Linked DNA regions of Homo sapiens: regions 2 and 3 are each linked to region 1. The links are contacts of gene promoters, found by promoter capture Hi-C in human tissues and cell types (Jung and others, 2019). All regions are on one chromosome and are shown on one strand. Each heading gives the region's core, a stretch centred on a gene start or on the middle of the fragment in contact. The rest is flanking DNA. Distances are from core to core; before and after follow the strand shown.

Region 1 (2,909 bases), core at 287-2,786:
TGAGATGAGATCATCCTGGATTATCTGAGTGGGCTCTACATCCAATAAGTGTCCTTATAAGAAACAGACATGGAGGAAAAACACAGACAGATGGGGAGAAGGCCATGGGGCTGTGGCAGACATTGGAGCTGCGGTTTCAAGCCAAGGATTGACAGCAGCTGCCAGAAGCTTGAAAAGGCAAGGAGGATTCTAGCCTAGAGTCTCCAGGGAGAGTGCAGCCGCCTGGCTGACACACGCCAGTCCTGCCAACACCTTCATTTTAGACTTCTGGCCTTCAGAACAGTGAGAAAATAGATTTCTGTTGTTTTCAGTCATCCAGTTTGTGGTCATTTGTTACAGAAGCCTCAGGAAACTATTGCACATGGTCTCTTTTAGCTGATGCTGATGCAATATTTCCTTTGGAGCTCTGCTGTATTCTGATTCAGTGATTCTCAACTCTGGCTGAGCATTAGAATTGCCTAGATGTTTTCTAACAAAGGTTGGTTGGTGTCTGGAACATCCTCAGAGATTCTGATTCAGTAGGGCTGTGGTACAGGCTGATATTGGTGTAGAGTCAGACATAAGAATTGCCATTTAATTAGTCACAACAACTTAACATCAAGGGGTGGCACAGAGGTACAGGGGGTGGGAATACCTATATAATTGTTTCACCTTAGGAATTTGCTTTGAAACATAACAATATGTGTCTTTACATTCAAGTATATTCTTAGAAACTAGCTGAAGCCGTTTCGCATCCTTGTGGCACTAAGTCCTGTTTCCACTGTGAAACAGTTACCAAGACAGTCCTGTTTCCACTGTGAAAAAATAAATGGATGTTCTGACAGGTGGCCACCATTGCTGACCTGACCATTCTCCAGAAGCACCAGGAGGCATTGCTTTCTAGACTGAAGCTCAGTCATGCTTCACTTTAGTCTAATCAAAAAGATTTGCTTGCAAGCCTTCATTCCAAATGGTTCCAGTGCCTTCCATACAATCAGATAATGACAATTGTGAGTTTCTGGTGGCATGCTACTTCATGTAATTAAAAAAAAATTGCTGCGTAGATGTGCTGAATAGGAGAAGAGTAAGTTATTATTTGGAGGGAAGAGGATTCCCAATTGTGGAACAAAGCAATTCCTTGTACCCTGGTTCTACATAAATGTTTCTTTATTTTTGAAGTTGCATGACCCCCTGTTGTGGTCTTTTTTGCACACATGTCAGAAAGCAGCCATGAGTGCATTGTAGTTGGCAATGTGAGCTTCTGTGTAAAGGGTCTTTGACGAAGAGCTCACTGCATCTACTGACTCCCCAGGATGTCTGAGGTCACAAGTTTGGCTGGAGCACATGAGCCCAGATAAAGAAGATGGTTTTGCCCTCCTGAAATAAAGCCAGAAGTGATCTCCTTTATTGTGCACTTTGGGTCATGTGCTAATGATGAGGGTTTCTGTAATACTAATCCCCCTAATGAAGGCTTCTCCCAGCCCTTACACAAGCCCCCAAGGCCCCGTGGCTTGGCAAGCCAGAGAGAATAAAAGCAGCACGGTGTTTGGCTTTTGAACTGAGTTCAAGGCAATTAAAGTCAAGAGCTAAGGAGGGAGGGAGAGGGTTTAGAAATACCAGCATAATAAGTAGTATGACTGGGTGCTCTGTAAATTAACTCAATTAGACAAAGCCTGACTTAACGGGGGAAGATGGTGAGAAGCGCTACCCTCATTAAATTTGGTTGTTAGAGGCGCTTCTAAGGAAATTAAGTCTGTTAGTTGTTTGAATCACATAAAATTGTGTGTGCACGTTCATGTACACATGTGCACACATGTAACCTCTGTGATTCTTGTGGGTATTTTTTTAAGAAGAAAGGAATAGAAAGCAAAGAAAAATAAAAAATACTGAAAAGAAAAGACTGAAAGAGTAGAAGATAAGGAGAAAAGTACGACAGAGACAAGGAAAGTAAGAGAGAGAGAGAGCTCTCCCAATTATAAAGCCATGAGCCCCCTTTGGTGGGGGTTTCTGCTCAGTTGCTTGGGCTGCAAAATCCTGCCAGGAGCCCAGGGTCAGTTCCCCCGAGTCTGCATGACGGTGGACAGCCTAGTGAACAAGGAGTGCTGCCCACGCCTGGGTGCAGAGTCGGCCAATGTCTGTGGCTCTCAGCAAGGCCGGGGGCAGTGCACAGAGGTGCGAGCCGACACAAGGCCCTGGAGTGGTCCCTACATCCTACGAAACCAGGATGACCGTGAGCTGTGGCCAAGAAAATTCTTCCACCGGACCTGCAAGTGCACAGGTGAGGCCCATGCTCCAAGCTTGGTGGGGAGGGCCAGAGCTGGGGAAAGAGCTCCTTCTAAGGAAGAGATGAGACTCTTGACAGAGACTCTTAGATTAGGCTTTGAAAGGCAAACCAATGATGGTTTTGGTCGGAAGCATATTCAATAAGGCTGATGTGCTGGTTTATTCTTCACACCCTCTAGTACATCTAGTTATGAAGACTAAATAAATATGGCGTGGGCCAAGCCTGCTTATATGAATGCATGCCAACATACTATTGGCTTGTTTGTTGGAAGGGGAATTTAAGAGCTTAAAAGCGTCAGCTTTGAAACTCGGAGCAAGTCCTTTCAAGATGGATTCGGTGCCCTCTCCTGAAATGGGTTTGCACTTGTTGAAAAGGGATGGGTGAAGCTTGGCATTCGGAAGACAGGAGTCAAAGGCAGGTGTTCTGGTCTCAGCATTTCTCATGATTTGAACAGATCTCTCTCTCTCTCTTTTTTTTGGAGATGGAGTCTCGCTTTGTCACCGTGGCTGGAGTGCAATGGTGCTATCTCAGCTCACTGCAACCTCCATCTCCCGGGTTCAAGTGATTCTCCTGCCTCAGCCTCCCAAGTAGCTGGGATTACAGGCACCCGCCATCATGCCTGGCTAATTTTTGTATTTCGAGACGG
Region 2 (2,909 bases), core at 174-2,673, 51 kb after region 1:
TGTTGGCTACTTGCATTTCTTCTTTTATAAATGTTGCTATTATTCGTAAAATCTTTTTGGAATACCTTTTAGGTAAATCTAGTGCAGCAGGTTAGATTTCATGGATCAAGACAAGAAATCCTGGCTTCAGAACTCAAATATAGGCTCTTCAGAGTACATAAAGATATTTGAAAAGCTAAGTGGGACTTAGCTCTGTAAGCTCATTGCTCTTTCACTCATGGCAGAAGAACCTGTGTGATTTTTTGGTGCTCAGGTGGGTCACTGAGGTACAGGTGGTTCCAGTTGGCATCAAGATCTCTCACCACTGAGTGAGAAATGAAGAAAAGGAAGAGTGACAGAGAGGGAAGCACTTCAAGGAGATCCAACCATCCTGCTAAGCCCCAAAGGGCACCATTGCCTTTTCCACTTGGTGGAGAGAGAACTGGAATGTAAATGGTGTGTGAAATGTTAAATGTGAGTGAACTTTAAGCAGTTGACATGGTGCTTCTGCTTCATTACCGATTGCATTTTTTCTGCTAGTGAAACCAGAGAAAATGTTCCCAGTTTCCAATTCTTTCTAAGAGATGAACAGCTTTAATGGCGGGCTCAGGTTGGACTTACTACAGGCATACTTTGGATAATCACAGCCTCCTGTTTTCTTGGTTTGCCTGCTGGGCTTAGCTTTGGGGTGGGAGAGAGGCAGAGGGGTTTGGGTGATTGGGAGGAAAAGAGCTGATTAGCTCCTCACTGCTCAGTCTGGAGCTTGAGCTATTTACTGCCTTACAAAACAGTCAAGAGAAATGAAGAGTCTTCTCTCTGCTCAGCATGTGTCCAAATCCTTGGAGGCTTTGACTTAGAATTTTAACCTTCCAGAGGTCATTTATTTGTCTTTGTATATTTTGTTGTCTTTCACACATTTGACTGTTGTACTATAACATATTCTTCCAGAAATTATGCACTGACACTTTAGGCCTGCCTTACAAATTGCACATTGGATTTGCTTATATCGTTGAACCAAAAAAAATTGTGAGCTATGTTGTGCTGTGTGTCACCTGTCAGGTAACAGCTCAGTTTCAACAGAATTGTTAGGTTTTTCTCTCCTGCAGTATTTGTGCACCTATTTGAATATTTAATTTAATGTTTACCCCTTAATATTTTAGAAAAGCGAATGCCAAATGAAGCAAAAAAAAAAAAAAAAGAGAGAGAAGGATTAATACTAGTGATAAATTTCACAAATAACACACGTGAGACAAAGATGGAAACCAAGTGGGGGTAGATTTAACTTCATTGGAATGCAAGGTGGATATCTATGGATTTAATTGTGAAGAGAAAGAATAGAAAGAAATGCAAAGTCCTAAAAATATATCCTCAGAAATTACATCAAAATGGTGAGGTGTAATTAGGAATTTTTGTAAATATTTTAAACTCTCTGGAAATACATATTTATTGTTGAATTTTTATTTCCAGCTTCTTTGGCTATTCCCTGTGATTAAAATTAGAATCCGCTGCTCTCAGATACGTGCTATTTGGCCAAGGCTAATTTTAACCTGCAATCCTAATCTGAACTATTTTTTTTATTAGGCCCTAAAACATAAAAATAATGTCTATTTATTTAAACGAAGGAAATAAGGCATTATACATCTCCCCTGCCCCCACTGGAGATTATACACTTCCTGAACAAAATTTAAAGAAACAAAGGCAGATAAAATTTTGCTCTTTTACCCCTCATCACTGTTACAAATTCAATACTTAACAAATGAAAATCGTATTCCTAACCCTGATTAAAAAGGCTTTTTTTTCCCCCAAAAAGTAACAGGCATGACTGAGATAGTAACCTTGGAGTCCAGATATGATTACATCTCTTTTTTTCCAGTTAATTGCTATGTGACCAGCTTGCTATATTAGTGGGAAATCTAGAATATCTTTCTGAGCTTTCCCCTGTTGAATTACTCAAAGTTGCCTGAGGCTTATGTAGTCCTCAGTCTGATTTCCACCCCTACGAAGGAAGCACTGGTGATTTATTAATCTCCTCTTGCTGTTATTTCTCATTAGCCCATGGTGTGGATTTTGAAATCTGGCTGTAAACAGTTCAGCAGGTGACGCTGATCCACTCTATACTGCAAGGATCATGCACTGTTCGCTCATTTGTCTACCGCTGCCTTCTCAGGGGTGCTGGACTTTCCCAGTGTGCAAGGTGTGGCCTCCTCTGCTGGCAGCTGTTGAGTTCAACTCTCTCAGTGCCACATTCAGGCCTTTCCCAGGGTACCAGTTATCCCAGGGTTTGGCACCTCTTGTTCCTGAACAAACTGATCCCTTTCCTGCAGAAAAAGGGGTGTGTTTTCTCTTTGGGCCCAGGAGCTTTTTCTTTTACAAATCTTAGAACTCAAAATGCTTGATTATACTTCTTTTATGGGTCAATGGCATTGCCTGTTCTTATTTCCAAGAGAGGCAAAACAGGATTTTTTTTTTTTTTTTTTGAGACAGAATCTCACTCCGTTGCCCAGGCTGGCATGCAGTGGCATGATCTTGGCTCACTGCAGCCTCTGCTTCCTGGGTTCAAGTGATTCTCCTGCCTCAGTCTCCCAAGTAGCTACAACTACAAGCACCTACCACTACAGCTGGCTAATTTTTGTGTTTTTAGTACAGATGGGGTTTCATCATGTTGGACAGGCTGGTCTTGAACTCCTGACCTCAAGTGATCCACTCGCCTCGGCCTCCCAAAGTGCTGGGATTACAGGCATGAGCCACCGCACCCAGCCCCAAACAAGATTTTTCATGGGACCCATCCACTCCCAAAGGGATCCAGGCTCAGGGACTCACCTTCCTTAGGATGCCCCAGGTGATGTTCAGGTATCTTTCTCTTTGGAGCAAAGAAAAAGAAATCAACCCACACGGCAAAATAAATTCAGTCTCTAATGGAGCATCTGGTT
Region 3 (2,909 bases), core at 249-2,748, 34 kb after region 1:
CTTAGGAACTGGGCCACACAGCAGGTGGATGGTAAGCAATTGAGCATTATCACTTGAGCTCCGCCTCCTGTCAGATCAGCAGCATTAGATTCTCATAAGAGTGCAAACCCTATCATGAACTGCACCTGAGAGGGCCCTAGGTTGCACACTCCTTATGAGAATCTAACTAATGTCTGATAATCCAAGGTGGAACAATTTCATCCTGAAACCATCTCCCTTCCCATCCACCACCCCCTGGTCCGTGAAAATTGTCTTCCTCGAAAACCAGTCCCTGGTGCCAAAAAGGTTGGGGACCGGTGGTGTAGAGGAAGTAGAGTATGTGGATTAGGAACTCTCACTTTAGAACCAGACTTCCTGGGTTCAAATTCTTACTCTACCATATATTAGCTGTGTGACCTTAGGCAAGTCACTTAACACTTTTGTGCCTTTTATTCCCCATCTGTAAAACAGGGTAATAATGTTATGGGTTGAATTGTCCCCCACAAAATTCATATGTCAAAGTCCTAATAGCTAATAACTCAGAATGTCACCTTGTTTGGAAATAGGATAGCTGCAGATATAGTTTATTAACATAAAATGTCATACTGGAGTAGAGTAGGTCCCTAATCTAGTGTGAGTGGTGTCCCTATAAAAAGGGAAAATTTGGACATAGGCACCTGCACACAGGGAGAACACTGCATGAGGATGAAGATAGAGATCTACAAGGCAAGGAATGCCAAAGATTGTCAGCAAGGCCCGAGAAGGTAGGAGTGAGGTCTGGAACAGATTTTCCCTCACAGTGCTTAGAAGGAACCAGCCCCACTGACATCTTGGTGTTGGACTTCCAGCTGCCTAGAAGCGAGACACTGTCTCCAACCGTAAGACAAATGCCTGTTGTCTAAGCCACCCAGTCTGTAGTACTTTGTTACAGCAGCCTGAGCAAACAAATAATATCCACCAAATCAGGCTGCTTTGAGGATTCAATATGTCATTTTGGGTAATTGAGCAAACACTAATAAATACTCACTAATTTACTTATCAAAAAGTGCTAGGCATGTGCCACATGCATTCCTAAATGCCCAGCTCCTCATTGGCTATATGTACAGTGTGTGTGATTTCAGAGGTGCTTGCAGGCCCCACCCACCTGCAAAATGCGAATTCCATCATTCTTCTTCCATAAGTCCTTGTCCCAAGTTAAAATAATAATAGTACTGATGGTATAGTCATAGTGATAACAACCATTGAATAACCATTTCCTACAAGAAAGGTGCTGTGTACTAGGTACCTAATATATATTATCTTCCCTACCTTCTCAGTGCCATGTTATTGGTGTCCACTGTTGAGGTTTACAGACCTCTGTGATCCTGGATCATCAGCTCCACAGGCTGTGTTTTATTCATCTCAAGCTGCGTCACTATCCCCGTTTCACCACCTCTGCCTTCTCATTCTCTGTCTGGATCTCTTAGCTACCCTCCCACCCAGGGGGCAGCAGTGTGGAGGAGAAGTCTCAGGCCTGACATTCCATCTGTTCTCCTTCCTGGAACCCAGAGGGGGCCAGGAAAAGGGGGTGGCATCTCTAGCCCCCCAACACTGAGGAAGAATGGGGCTCTTCCCATTTCACCCCGCCCCCCCACAGTTTCTCCCCTGCCTCCAGGAATGGGCCACTTCTGCATGGGGCAGCGGGTCCCAATTCAGCTCACACTGAGAATGTAAGAACTACAAACAAAATTTCTATTAAATTTTGTGTCTCAACAGAAAAGAGAAAGCGACCAAGGAACTCCCTTCCCTGCATGTGCTGGTAACCATGAGCCTGGGAGGCTCTACTCAGGTTTTTTTCCTTTGTTGTGTTTATCCATTTCTGCATAACAGATTACGATTACCCAAACACTCAGTGGCTTGAAGGTGACCATTTCATTTCTTACCATTTCTGTGGGTCAGGAATTTTGGAAGGGCTTGACTAGGCAGTTCTAGCCTAGCATCTTTCAGTGCAGCTGCAGTCAGATGGTGATAGGTGTTGGAACAGCTGTGGACTGGCCCGCTATCTGTTTTTCTTCCTGAAATCTTGAGCCTCGCCATCATGGTCACTCTATATGAGTTGGTTTGGGCTTCTTCACAGCATGGCTGCCTCAGGACAGCTGGACTGCTTATTTGATGGTTCAGGGCTCAGGCACAAGATAGGAACTGCAATACACTTTATGATTTAACCTTGAAAGTCACAAAATGTCACTTCTGTTGCATTTTATTGGTTATAAAAGAGTCAGAAACTCACCAAGTTTCAAGGGAAGGCCAGATGAAGCCAACCTTCAATGAGGGAGTGGCAAGATTCTAGAAAAGCATGTTAGTCAAGAAACAAACATTGTGTGGCCTTCTTTGGAAAATATATTTTTGTATATCCCTAGACACTGTTTATTTGCACAAACTGTTTATGTAAATAAAGATGCATGACACTGTCATCAGCCAACACATACTTAGTAAATATTGACTCTGTCCAGGTTGTATGCTAAGCTTTGCACTGTATGCAAAGTGTCTGCATGACACTGTCATCAGCAAACACATAGTTAGTAAACATTGACTCTGTCCAGGTTGTATACTAAACCTGAGACTTCAAAGGTGAAAAGTCCTTATCTTAGACCTTAAGGAGTTAGGATCTTGTTAGGGGACATAGATACATAAATAACAAGTTATAGTATCATTTGATCAGTGCTATAAATGAGGTACAAGGTACAGTGGTGAATGGAGGAATGAATACACTGAATAAGTATTTACTGAAATAAGTACCTCCCTTTCTCCATATGAGACACCCTGGGGTGACAAGCTCTGGGGATCCAGGGGGAATGAAAAAAGGACACTGCCCCTGAGCTCCTTGAACTTACCATCCAGGAAGGAACAAGGAACTCCAACAACTGCCATCAAGGTGGGACTGAACTCTC

What was found. Contacts are between HindIII fragments. The study calls those that stand out against the background at their distance.
Region 2: a contact is called between a fragment that was not itself captured here and the fragment with the promoter of DCT in region 1, in 3 of the 25 tissues and cell types used here (dorsolateral prefrontal cortex, small bowel and spleen).
Region 3: a fragment that was not itself captured here is called in contact with the fragment with the promoter of DCT in region 1 in 2 of the 25 tissues and cell types used here (dorsolateral prefrontal cortex and thymus).

The regions. Positions count from the first base shown.
Region 1 is chr13:94,478,309-94,481,217 of GRCh38, reverse strand. DCT (dopachrome tautomerase) reads left to right here and starts at 1,536. Exons shown (of 8, transcript NM_001922.5): 1 at 1,536-2,257. The coding sequence starts at 1,963. The HindIII fragment of the contact is 3,749 bases long and covers 1-2,463 here.
Region 2 is chr13:94,426,727-94,429,635 of GRCh38, reverse strand. No RefSeq gene overlaps it. Among named protein-coding and RNA genes, the nearest start is that of DCT, 52 kb to the left of the region's middle. The HindIII fragment of the contact is 6,484 bases long and covers 1-2,909 here.
Region 3 is chr13:94,444,587-94,447,495 of GRCh38, reverse strand. The region is part of intron 6 of DCT (dopachrome tautomerase); the gene reads left to right. Among named protein-coding and RNA genes, the nearest start is that of DCT, 34 kb to the left of the region's middle. The HindIII fragment of the contact is 3,651 bases long and covers 1-2,909 here.